2 separate regions of the Homo sapiens genome follow, and region 2 is linked to region 1. The links are contacts of gene promoters, found by promoter capture Hi-C in human tissues and cell types (Jung and others, 2019). All regions are on one chromosome and are shown on one strand. The core of a region is centred on a gene start or on the middle of the fragment in contact, and the rest is flanking DNA. Distances in the headings are between cores, read along the strand shown. Region 1 holds the start of C3orf70 (chromosome 3 open reading frame 70). Region 2 overlaps VPS8 (VPS8 subunit of CORVET complex).

Region 1 (6,523 bases), core at 1,801-4,300:
AGCTAATTTTTGTATTTTTAGTAGAGATGGGGTTTCACCATGTTGTCCAGGCTGGTCTCGAACTCCTGACCTCAGGTGATCCATCCGCCTTGGCCTCCCAAAGTGTTGGGATTACAGGCATGAGCCACTGTGCCTGGCAGGGAGTAGCATTCTTAAAGGGGAGCTGGAGAGGTGGTCAGCAGCTACAGGACAAGTTCATATTTATGATCAAATTGTATGCTATTATGCAATAATTATGGTTAGAGATTTTAAAATTTCCTTTAGAGATATACACCAAAATATTAATGGATGAAACGATTTGATGTTTGAGATTGGCTTAAAAATGATCCAGTGGACAGGTTGGGGGCCTGGAGTGGGTGGCGCTGTAGATGAAACAAGGTTTTCTAAATGAGTTCATAATCGTTGAAACTGGGTGATGGGTACATGGGTACATGGGGGGTTATCTTCATCTCTCTATGTTTGTATATTTTGGAAAGTTTCATAATAAAAAATTTAAAAATCGTATCCCAACAACACATCCTGAAAGCTGTGTGTATATATTTGAGAGGTCACAGCAATTACCTCCTCCCGCTCCACACCAGACAGTAGAAATCAATAACGTCTTTAGGGCAAGGTGATGGAATGAGTTTCATGGTACAGAAAATGTAAAGGCTTCTCAACTTCAAATCACGTGTCTAACCTAAAATAAGGTGTTTGGATAATTCATCTTGCCTCCTAGCTAAAGTGCTATATTGCATGCTTTCTCATGCTCATTTTTTACTAGCTGAGATGGTTTATTTCATATATTGTGGAATCTTACCACATGGTTCACCCTGGGGTAAAAGTCAGGGGAAGGATCCCATACAAGTATTAGTTACTGAAATACAGAGAGGATGCCGTCATAAGGCCTTCTATGATAGGGGCAGTATTAGAGTGAGTTATAGGTTGGAGAAAGAGAAAAATAGGGTAGAACAGATGGAAAGTCCCCTTTGAAAAATTGTTGGTTGGCTTGCTGCAGTAATAATGGAGTATGGATTTCTTTGATTAAGATTTCTCTGCCTTTTACTTCCGTTATTCTGAGGTAGGTCAGACTGTGAAGTTAACAGCAGGGGTGCATAGATTTTGTGTCAGAGATGTATTCCTTTAGGATTTTTTTGAGGCGGGGAGCAGTTGGGGTGGAAGCTGATGAGATGATTCTTCATGTTTGCAACTGTTTCAATGTTAGGTTAATGGGGGAACTAGAGTTTGTGATTTTGATTCAGACCTTTCTGGAAAATACTTTTGCTGCCAAATTGAGTCTCTCCCCAATCCCTAATAAATGAAGATTTCACCAGAGTCAGATATATGCAAATTACATTTCCCTTCTCAAGCCAAGGTTACATAAAAGGGAAAATTATGAAAGATTGCTTATGGCAGCAAGGATTTTCAAGCTTGAGGATGAATTTGGTTGTTTCAAAACCATGATGAGTCTCTTGTCAGTGCAAAGCAGGAAAGGCATAAAGGAGAAAGTGGACCTGGGCATAAACATGTTCCCACACAGTGTTTGTGCTGAAAGCCTTGTTCCTTGAACAAGCATTCTTCTGTGCGTTTGGCAAATAAGGAGGGGGTGTCCCCTCCTCTTCTGTGTTCAAGGCTGGGTTCTGGCCTTGTTGCAGGGAAACACTAATTCCCAGCAGTGCACCATGGGAGCAAATGGTTTGTTTCCTCTTCAGTGAATCCAGCCTGGGGTCGGTTCTCAGCAGCAGAGCCTGGCATGGAAAATCTATTTGGAGCAACTTGTCCCCAGGAGGGAAGAGTGCGAGCCAACTGTGTGGGGAAGCCGCAGCCACCACAGGGTCAGTCACACCTGCTGGCCAGAGCAGGCGCTAACACAGAAAGGCAGAGTCCTCCGCATACATGAGTCCTGTTTGTGTGCCCACCCACTCCTATGTACCACACACACCCGATTTGATCCGTATATGCCATGTGCACACTCGACATGCCAGATACACGCACTGCACTGCCACACATATACCATACACACACCACTCTGTATTACTAAGCATACCCACCCCCACAACACGTGCACAAGCACATGCACGTCCAACTACACACATATACATATTCTGCACGCCACACACACTCAACCACACACACACCACCCACACTCCACCTCAGTTATAACATTCATTTCACATACACACGTATACACACACCTCACCAGTCACTTGCATCACGCATACCACCCACCATGTACCATGAACACACCTAACCACACACAACCACACACGCATACCCACCATACATACTCCAAATAATCATACACACGCACGCAACACACACATCCCATGCACACCAAACTACACATACGCAGACACACACACACATCAATGCACCCAGCTTTGTTGCTTTCCCGCTCAACGGAGGCGGGGGTGGGAGGAGAAGGGGGAGGGGCTGCGGTCCCGGCGAAGGTTGGGGCGGGCGCGGGAAGGCCCGGGCGCACTGGCCTGGGGTTTGGGGCGAGGCGGGCAGGGGTTGGCGGTGCTGGCCCCTGACGCGCCCTGTGGCCGCGCTGGGGCAGGAGGCCCGCCCTGGGTGGGGGGAGTGCGCGCGTGTGCACGAGCGTGTGCGCGCCTCCCAGGGGCTCCATGCCCAGACACGGGGAGGTGTGTACGAGGGAGATGTGAGACGCCTGTGGGGACAGGCTGTGTGTGTGAGATCCTCGCTACGCGATGCACCCGGCCCGGGCCACTAGGAGGTTCGGGTGGGCGTGGGCCAGGTGTGCGCAGCCCTCCGTGGAGCGTGTGGACGCGTGTGTCAGTTCTCGGTGGCCAGTGTCACTCGGGGGGAAGTGCATATGTAGGCTGGCGTGCATGTGAGTACAAAGCGGCCGAGGAGTGTGTGTTCACCACGGCCCTCCGTCGGGGTCTTTCTCCGAGGAAGGAGTGAGTATGTGAGGAGGACCTCGCTGTGACCGGCGGGGACGCCGACGGCCAAGCTCCCCAGCGGCGTGTGTGTGAGAAGGCCGGGCTCGCTGAGGAACGTCGCGCGGGGCCGACCGGCGCGCGCCTGTGCGCGTGCGTGTGCGCGTGGGGCGCGGCGCGCGCCGCGCCGGAGGGAGGGAGGCTGCCAGCCCGGACCCGGTCGCAGCGCCCGGGGCGGCTCCTCCTCGAGCCTGGGACCGCCGCGCTCCCGCCGCCGCCGCGTGCTGGCGTGACTCCCGGCCCGTGCCGCGCCCTCCCGCGTCCGCAGCCGGCTCGGCTTCCTGCCCACCCAGACGTCGCTTCTCCCGGGCTCCCGGTGTCGGCTCCGCGCGGAGGGAGAGGAAATGAGTGCGGCGGCCTCGCCGGCGTCGGAGCGGGGTTGGAAGAGCGAGAAACTAGATGAGGCTCAGGCCCTGGCGCGGAGTTGCGCCGCCCGCAGACCCGACTTCCAGCCGTGCGACGGGCTGTCTATCTGTGCCACGCACAGCCATGGCAAGTGCTTCAAGCTGCACTGGTGCTGTCACCTAGGATGGTGTCACTGTAAGTCGAGCCGCGTCTTCCCGCCTTCCGCCGCGGTCCGGGGGACGCCCGCCGGGCCGTCCGGGGTCGCTGCCGGAACTCTGCGGCCGCGGGGCTCCGGGCTCTGCCGGGGCTGCTCTGCCGGAGGCTGGGGCCGCCGTGGGCTCCGGGCCCGCCGGAGCTTTCCTTGCGCCGGACGGCTGGGGTTGGCGCTGCCTTGACGACGAGATGAAATCCCGTGGGGCGCCTCGCTTTCTTTAGCTACTTCTACAAAAGGGAGCTCCCTGTCCCAGGGAAGCGGGAATCTGGTTTTTTTTCTTTTCTTTTTCTTTTTTTGACCAAGGCGTCCAGGCGGTGTTTTGAGAAATGGGAGCGAGCCAGCTGAGTTGGCGACAGCTGTTGGGGATGCCTTTTTTCAAGGTTGCTGGTTAAAGATGCTCCTCTTTTTCTTTCTCACTTTTGTCTTCCTGGGCTGCTATTTAAAAGAAGGAGCCCTTGGATATCCAATTGTTTCCCCCTTGATTGTACCCAAATTGAGAAAAAGCGCTAATGTGGGAGGGATTGCTTCCAAGAAGTTAATATTAACAGTTTGGAAGGTCGAGCTCCTTAAATACCCAGATGTAGAATTTAGAGCCAAATAAATGAGACTTATAAAATTACAAAATAAAATGAGTGAAAGTAAGCTTAATAGTCTTAAACCAATTTATAAAAGCTAGAACCAAATGGTCTAAACCCTTTCTCTGTGTTTAGCCTCCTGCCTGTGATTTTTAAATAGATTAAACTTAAGTAGCCATTTAATTAGAATTTCACAATTTGATTAGCTAATAGTATTTGGACTATATCCGATGAATCATTCATTTTAAGAAATATATTCTAAAGTTAGTTTCCACATATATTTGTAATAGAGGGTTTTGGAGTGCTTATTTAGGACATTTTCCAAGTGATCTTAAGTTAAAATGAATTTTTCTTTGTTGAGAAAAAAATAGCTGACAACCAGGAATGCAGTACATAACAAATCCTTATTTACATTAATCGAACATAAATGAATATTTTAAATCGAATTTATGAATTCAAGGATAGAGGATCATTTTCTTTACAAATTCCAGGCACATAGAACAGTATTGATTTCTGGTGTTCCATTTGCTTATGGGCCAGTTTCTTCCTATTTCTCATTATTCCTGTTGTGCTCAGATCTGTTCTCTTTTGTTAGTATAAAGCATTGCTTCACGGTGGGACAGGGTACCGAGTTGGAAGTAGCAACTCTAGGAAACCTGGGATGCTGAAGTGCACAAGTAGAATCTGGACTTTCATTCATTTCGTGGGAAAGTATAGAATCGTTGTGTAAAATGTGAGGAATGTTCAAGATAGTCCAGGTTACTGTCTGTCTTATTTTGACAGTGTCTTCTCTAAGTACACCGTTACTGATGGGAACCTTGCAGTTTTCTCAGACAGCTTCTCCCTTCATTAGCCTTGACTCTTAAAATACTCTTCCTTATATGGAGCTGAAATCAGTTACTTTCTAACTTCTTTCTTCTGCTCCTATTTCTGCCTTATGAAATCATATAGAACAATTGAATCCTTTTTTAGATCATGGCTGTTTCAACTCTTCATATATACATTGCTGAATATACATATGAATGTCTTGCACATATGGACTGTCTTCTCTCTGTATCCCTGGCCATTCTCACAATGTCTTTCCTGAAATAGGTTTAACAATAATGTTCATTGAATGACTGAATGAAGCTAGTGATCATCTTTCTCTTAAGGCATTTCTTTGTCCTATTTATACATTTCCAGTCCCTTCTGCCTTTCCTTTTATGGAATAGTATTCAGGCTCCTAAGCATCTTGGTTGTTCTCTTCTGAACATGTGCCAAGGTGGTTTTGATCCTTTGAAGACTGTGGCCCCTAGAAAGGTAGACAATATTCCAGTTGTGGTCTGATCAGTCTAGAGTTGAACAAGACCACTACCTCCCATGTTCGAGATACTGCTATTGCTGCAGCTAGCATCACATTAGCTTTTCTGATATCTTCATCACATACTGAGCTTGCTGCTGTCAGATTGAACTAAGCTTGCCATCAAAGCCATTGAGCTGTTTTGTTTTTTTTTAACATATGTGACAAGCCACTGTTTGCCCATCTCACACTTATATTTTTGGACACAGGTACTGATCCCTTAGATATCTTTTCCTATTAAATTTCATTTCATTAGAATGAGCCTAATTTTGTGTGTGTGTGTTTTTAGATCCTGGCTCTTTCTTAATATATTTATAAGCTGTTTGTCCTAGGTTCATGTCATCCACATACTGGATACCAACAGTAGTACAGTACATGTTCATAAAAGTTACTGATAAAATTGTTGAACAAGAGAAAGCCACAGATAGAGTCCTGAAGCTTGCGGGTAGAACTGCCCTTCAGGTTGATAGCAATTCATTAATGAGCACTTGTTAGTTATGATTGTTCAAACAATTACCTAGCCACCTAGTTGCACTGTTATCCATCTTATATTTATCTTGTATATGGGTGTAATGAAAACCTGGTCAAATACCTTATTGAAATCCTACCAACACACTGTTTTTACTGCCTCTTTTTGATCTGTGACCTATCTGTACATACACTCTTTTTTTAAAAAAAAACAAGAAATTAGGTTAATCTGGTAAAACTCAGGTTGATTCCACAAATGGTTACCATTTTCTTTTCTAAATGGTTAGAAACTGTTTTAAAATAAATAATCTGAATTTAGAAAAGGATTGACGTCAAGTATACTGGACTGTCGTTGGCAGTTGTTTCTGTTTTTTAAAAAATCAGGACTACAGTTATTTGTTCTTTTCCAGTCTTTGGCAGTCCTCCGGTTCTCCACACTTCCTCCACTGGCAGCAGCTCAGTGATCCCATTCACTAAAAGCTTGACTTCATTTAAAGCAGCTAGGTGCTCTGTTACAATCTCCTCAGTTATCCTGGGAATTAATTCTCTCTATGCTTTTTAGCCCAAAATAAGCAGAGTTAACATGTTTGAGAAGTTCTCCTTTCTTTTTGGTATTCATGGAGTTTACAGTATCAGTCCT
Region 2 (6,523 bases), core at 2,666-5,165, 170 kb after region 1:
ATCCCAGCACTTAGGGAGGCAGAGGCGGGAGGATGGCTTGAGCCCAGGGTGAGACCTGCTTGGGCAACACGGTGAGACCCCATTCTCCACAAAAAAGGAAAAAAAAAAGACAAGAAAAATCAATTACTGTAATCCACCACATCAACAGGCTAAATAAGAAAAATCATATGATCATATTAGCAGATGCAGAAAATGCACTTGATAAAATCCAACGCCCACTCATGATAGACAAACTGTGAGCAAACAAGGAAGGAAGGGACACTTCCTAAACTTGATAAACAGTATCTATAAGAACCTTGCAGCTAACATCATACTTAATGGTGAGAAACTGCCTTTCTTCTAAGACAGAAAATAAGGCAAAGATAACCCCTCTCACCACTCCTATTCAACACTGTACTGGAAGTTCTAGTTACAGCAATAAGACAAGAAAAGGAAACAAAAGATATACAGATTGGGAAGGAAGAAATAAAACTGTCTTTGTTTGCAGATGACATGATTGTCTAAAAAACCCTGAAACAATTAAGTGATTATAGCAAAGTTACAGGATACAAGGTTATTATACAAAGTCAATTGGTTTCCAATATGCCAGCAACCAACAGTTAGAATTTAAAATTAAAAAGATACTATTCACATTAGTACCTAAGAGAAATATTTAGATATGTCTAATAAAATATACACAGTTTGTATGAAGAAAACTGTAACACTCTAATGAGGGAAAGCAAAGAAGATCTAAATACATGGAGAAATATTTCATGTTCATGAACAGAAAGATTTGATATTGTTATAATGTTAGTTCTTCATTTGATCTATAAGTTCAATGTATTCCTAATCAAAATTCCAGCAAGTTACTTTGTAGATATCAACAAACCGTTTCTGAAGTTTAAAGCAGAGAGGCAAAAGACAAGGAATGGCCAACACAATAATGAAGAAGAGCAAAGTTGGATGATTGTCACTCCCTGACTTTAAGACCTACTATAAAACTAATCAAGACAGTGTTGGTATTGGTGAAGGAATAGAAAATAGATCATTGTAAAAGAACAGAAAACCCAGAAATAGACCCATATGAATATGGTAAACTAAGCAAAGGCAATTCAATGGAGAAAGGGACAGTCCTTTCAACAAGCAGTGTTGGAACTAGTTCCAACTGTGTATATTCACATGCAGAAAAATGAATCAACACTGACCATATATTTTCCCCCAAAATTAACACAAAATGGATCATAGCTCTAAGTGTAAAATGCAAAAATACAAAACTTTTAGGAAAAAACAAATGAGAAAAATCTGGGTAACCTTGAGTTTGGTGATGAGTTTTTACATACAACATCAAAAGCATATTCCATGGAAGAAAAAGTCAATAAACTAGACTTCATTAAAAGCAAACACTTCTGCTGTGTGAAACACACTGTTAAGAGAATAAAAAGACCAGCCACAGAGTGGGAGAAAATATTTGCAAAAACACGCATGTGATAAAGAACCTTATCCAAAATATACAAAGAATCCTTAAAACCCAACAACAAGAAAACAAACACTTCAAAAAGCACGTAAAAGCTCAATATCACATGTTGTAAGAGAACTACAAATTAAAACAATGATGAGACTACTACACGTCTACTAGAATGTCTAAAATCCAAAACACTGACAATACCACATGCTGCTAAGATATGGAGCAACAGGAACTTTCATTCAGCGCTGGCGGAAATGTAAAATGGTATAGACATTTTGGAGCAGAGTTTGGCAGTTTCTTACAAAAGTAAGCATAGTCTTATATAATCCAGCAATCACATTCCTAGGTATTTACCCAAATGAGTCTAAAACTTAAGTCCACACAAAAAGCCTGCATATGAATGTTCATAGCTGTTTTACTGAAAATTTTCAGAACTGGAAGGCAACCAAGATGTTCTTTGATAGGTATGTGGATAGACAAAACTGTGGAACATCCATACAATGGAATATACAGAGATAAAAAGAAATGAACTATCAAGCCCCCAAAAGAAATGGAAGAACTTTAAGTGCATATTGCTAAGTGAAAAAAGCCAATATGAAAAGACTACGCACTCTATGATTCCAACTATATGACATTCTGGAAGAGGTAAAACTATAGGGACAGTTAAAAAAAAAAAATCAGTGTGGGCACGGTGACTCGCACCTGTAATCTCAGCACTTTGGGAGGCAGAGGTGGGCAGATCACTTGAAGCCAGGAGTTCAAGACCAGCCTGGTCAACATGGCAAGACCCCATCTCTATTAAAAATACAAAAATTAGCTGGGCACGGTGGTGTATGCCTGTAATCCCAGCCATTTGGGAGGCTGACGCATGAGAATCTCTTGAACCTGGGAGGTGGACGTTGCAGTGAGCAGAGATCACGCCAATGTACTCCAGCCTGGGTGACAGAGTGAGACTCTGTCTCAAATAAAAGAAAAAAAATTAGTGGTTGCCAGGGGATTAGCATAGGGAGGAGGATGAATAGGTGGAGCACAGGGGCCTTTTAGAGCAGTGTATGATATGGTAATGGTGGATATAGGACATTATGCATTTGTCAAAACCCATACAACTGTACAACACAAAGGGTGATTGCTAATGTAAACTATGGACTTTAGTTAATAATTATAATATATCAATATTAATTCACCAATTGTAACAAATATACCACACTAATACAAAAATGTTAACCGTAGGCAAAACTGAGTGTGGGAGGGAGAAGGGGTAAAAGGGAATTCTCTGTATTTTCTGTTTAATTTCTCTGTAAATCTAATACTGCTCTAGTACTTAATAATAGAAATACTAAACCTCAATGAAAGGCCTGGTTGTGTAACTGAGGCTTGCTGACTGATGCAGCTCCATGGAGAGTGACAGGACAGCTAGCCAGCCTTTTTCTTGAGGAAAACCTGAAGCATCCAATCTGTTTAGGGTTTATTCCTCTGAGATCATTCAGTGTCTCAAGAAAATGAACCTCTGTCTCCTTCATGAGAAGTGAGTGCGTCTGATGGCTGCTGGAAGGGGGAAGAGGAGCACGGGGAATACCATCAGCAGACTTTCCCCAAATCCTCATTTTCAGCCCTGTGTTTTACTCCCCTCCCCTTGTGTCTGAGTCATTCCTCTGCTAAAAATCTTGATGACAACTGATTTTAGAATAAAATCCAAACTCCTTATCATGAATTATAAAGCAATTAAAGACACAGTCCCTGCCTATCTCTCAAATTTCAGCTCTGTAATTTTTCTTTATTCTTATCCTATGTTCTGAGCACACTTAAAAAACTTGTAACTTTCCAAAAGTACCATGCTTTCACCTCAAAGTCTTTGTGTATATAGAATAATCCTACCTCCTTTCTTTCCTTGATTTCCTTAGACTCTTTTAAGAATCAGCTCAGACATCTCCTCTTCCAGGAAATCTTTCCAAATTTCCTACTCTGTTTCAGGTATATACTTTTATTGGTACTCCTTTGGTCATATATAGCCATAAATACCACTCAATCTAACTTACTCAAAAAAGTTAATTATTGTAAAGATGCTAGGGTATTTCACAGATCTAAGAAGAGGAATGCTGGTAAGTCTTAAGAGTCACAATGAGAGACTCATGTGCATCAGCTTTTTCTCCCCACATGGTCTCCTCTCCTCGTCTCTATGTCTTGAATCCTCTTTATGCATTGTATCCATTTGTGTGTCTCTTCTTAGTGTCTACTACATTCGTCTCCTTCTCTCTACAGATTATGCTTTTTCACTCTTCCAGTCCATATAATGGAAAAACAGGAACTGTCCGTTCCTGAAATTTGTACCTGATGTAATCCAGAGACTTAACGAGAGACTTATAGATCTTTTCCAAGTTCAGTTCCAAAATGTCCTGGAAAGCACACTGATTGGCCTTGTTTAGGCCATTTGCTCACCCCGAGTCAATCAGCTGGACCCAGGAGGCAGGGTCACACTTTCCCACAGCTCCTTCTGCTCTTACACAGATTAAGTATAGAAATGTAGGCATGGCAATTATCCTATATGGATTCAGAGCAGATAATCCTAAAGGTGGCCACTATTACTTGAATAGAGCCCTATGAATAGTTGTATCAGCACATTTTTTGTCTCTTAAATAAGAGCTCTTATGGGTTCAGAACTATGCCTTTCATCTAAACAGCATAACATACAATTAATATATTTAATTAATAATGAACTCAAAAGACCAGGGACATAAACAAATAAAAAAAGCTCACATGACATAATAAAAAAGAACGTGAATTAGGAAGTGAGAGACTTAGGGGGTGGTCCAGGTTCTGCTGCTAATGATAGGCTAAGAACTCAACTTCTCTATACTTCAGTTTCTTCTTTTTTCAGCAGAAATGTTTATAGTAGCCCTGCCTACCTCAAGGGATTGTTGTGGGCTTCAAATGAAATGATATCTGTGAAAGCACCTTGAAAAATAAAAATCTCTGTACATATATAAGGTAGCATAATTACAGTAATCACAAACATGCAAATGAGGAATTTAAGAAATAGCATACCTTCCTGATTAGTGGGAGTTAACAACCATTGAAAATAGAAAATGATAAGAAAAAATTATAATGAATGCCAGTATAACTCAAAATAAAGTGAAGATTTTCAAATATCAAGAGACTTCTAGATTCCAAAGTCTTGAAATATAAAAAATTTTAAAAATCATGTTTTTGCCAAGAGAAAAACATGTTTTTGTTATAATTTACATATCATAATGTGTGGTTAAAGCTCAATATAAAGCAAAATGTATAGCACAGAGAGAACCCATTTGGCTTTATGATTTCATTTCTTATAACTTACTTGGAAAAGTATTCCTGCCCTTATGGAGATATTACTTTATACATGATTAGAAACCTCATAAGTAATGAGCTTTAAAATGGATATGTGAAGCAGTCTATATCAAAGAATTATTCAACACATGATAATTGCTAAGATCAAATGAAATAATACATGTAAAAATGTGTTCTGGCCGGGCGCTGTGGCTCATGCCTGTAATCCGAGCACTTTGGGAGGCTGAGGCGGGCGGATCACCTGAGGTCAGGAGTTTGAGACCAGCCTGACCAACATGGAGAAACCCGGTCTCTACTAAAAATACAAAATCAGCTGGGCGTGGTGGCACATGCCTCTAATCCCAGCTACTCGGGAGGCTGAGGCAAGAGAATCACTTGAACCCAGGAGGCGGAGGTTGCGGTGAGCCAAGATCACACCATTGCACTCCAGCCTGGGCAACAAGAGTGAAACTGTCTCAAAAAAAAAAAAAAAAAGTATTCTAAATGATAGTATACCATGTAATGACAAAGACTACAGGATGTAGTCATCTTTATCAGAAAAGCCCCAGAAGCTTAATATCAGATGGGAAGTAGAGTTTTTTTTTTTGAGACGGAGTCTCGCTCTGTTGCCCAGGCCGGAGTGCAGTGGCTCGATCTCGGCTCACTGCAAACTCTGCCTCCCGGGTTCACGCCATTCTCCTGCCTCAGCCTCCCAAGTAACTGGGACTACAGGCGCCTGCCACCATGCCCGGCTATTTTTTTGTATTTTTAGTAGAGACGGGGTTTCACCGTGTTATCCAGGATGGTCTCGATCTCCTGACCTCATGATCCGCCCGCCTCGGCTTCCCAAAGTGCTGGGATTACAGGCGTGAGCCACCACGCCCGGCCAAGCTTGGTGAGTCTTAAAAGAGCTGACAGGAACATTCTTCATTGAATAAAAATCATTTGAAAATTATAAAGACTAATGGCATCATATTACGGTTTGCTTTGTATGTGTGTGGGAGGGGGGCGGGGTGCATGCACATGTATGCCTATACTGAATAAAGTGAGGATAGACAAAATGGATTCTAAGTATAATTCCTGTTGTTTCCCCAAGAATGCTCACAGGTTTTTTTCTAAAAATATATCTTGGAGTATTTTGAGTGTTCTCTTTTGATGAAGCCGAGAAGGTTCAGGCTTTTTTGTTGAAAGAAGCAAACCAAAATAATGCTTCCTACAAAAGCTTTGGACACAAAGCCAGCTAGAATTTAGAGTCAAGGATGAGTATTCAAGACAAAAATAATTTTAGGATGAGTTAGAAAGCCTAAATAACAACCAATGCTTAGGAAATTCCTGTATTAATTTTTAGATTATCTTTTTGGAATCTAAAAATTATAATCAGCTGATAACTCCCTCCCAGTTAGCAAACCAATAGGAAACTTGTATATCTGAATCCCAAGGCAACAGGGAATATCTGAAGGCCGCACGCCCTAACTGAAGGTCACAAGCTTATGTCAGGCAAAGTCACACCAAAAAACTGACAGAAAAGATTCAAGAATGAGGGTCGGAAGTTAGATATTTAGATATTTAGCTATTGCCAAAAATTAGCTGCATTATGCTTGAGATCCATTTAAATATTAGCCCAATTCACTGTTATTTATATATAACTAAAATGTTAGTTGAAATCAATATTTAATATTCACCCCTTTTAACTCACCTGTAAGATTCTTTGCAAGATTGATGGAAGGGCAATAAATGCTGCCATGCTATTTAAAACTTGCATGGTCAAAGACTTCA

What was found. Contacts are between HindIII fragments. The study calls those that stand out against the background at their distance.
Region 2: a fragment that was not itself captured here is called in contact with the fragment with the promoter of C3orf70 in region 1 in 2 of the 25 tissues and cell types used here (aorta and hippocampus).

The regions. Positions count from the first base shown.
Region 1 is chr3:185,149,587-185,156,109 of GRCh38, reverse strand. It overlaps C3orf70 (chromosome 3 open reading frame 70), which reads left to right and starts at 3,050. Exons shown (of 2, transcript NM_001025266.3): 1 at 3,050-3,482. The coding sequence starts at 3,287. RefSeq lists an enhancer at 2,865-3,004 and a silencer at 3,425-3,644. The HindIII fragment of the contact is 5,340 bases long and covers 1-4,838 here.
Region 2 is chr3:184,983,015-184,989,537 of GRCh38, reverse strand. VPS8 (VPS8 subunit of CORVET complex) reads right to left here. Exons shown (of 48, transcript NM_001009921.3): 42 at 6,444-6,523. Among named protein-coding and RNA genes, the nearest start is that of C3orf70, 170 kb to the left of the region's middle. The HindIII fragment of the contact is 4,374 bases long and covers 1,729-6,102 here.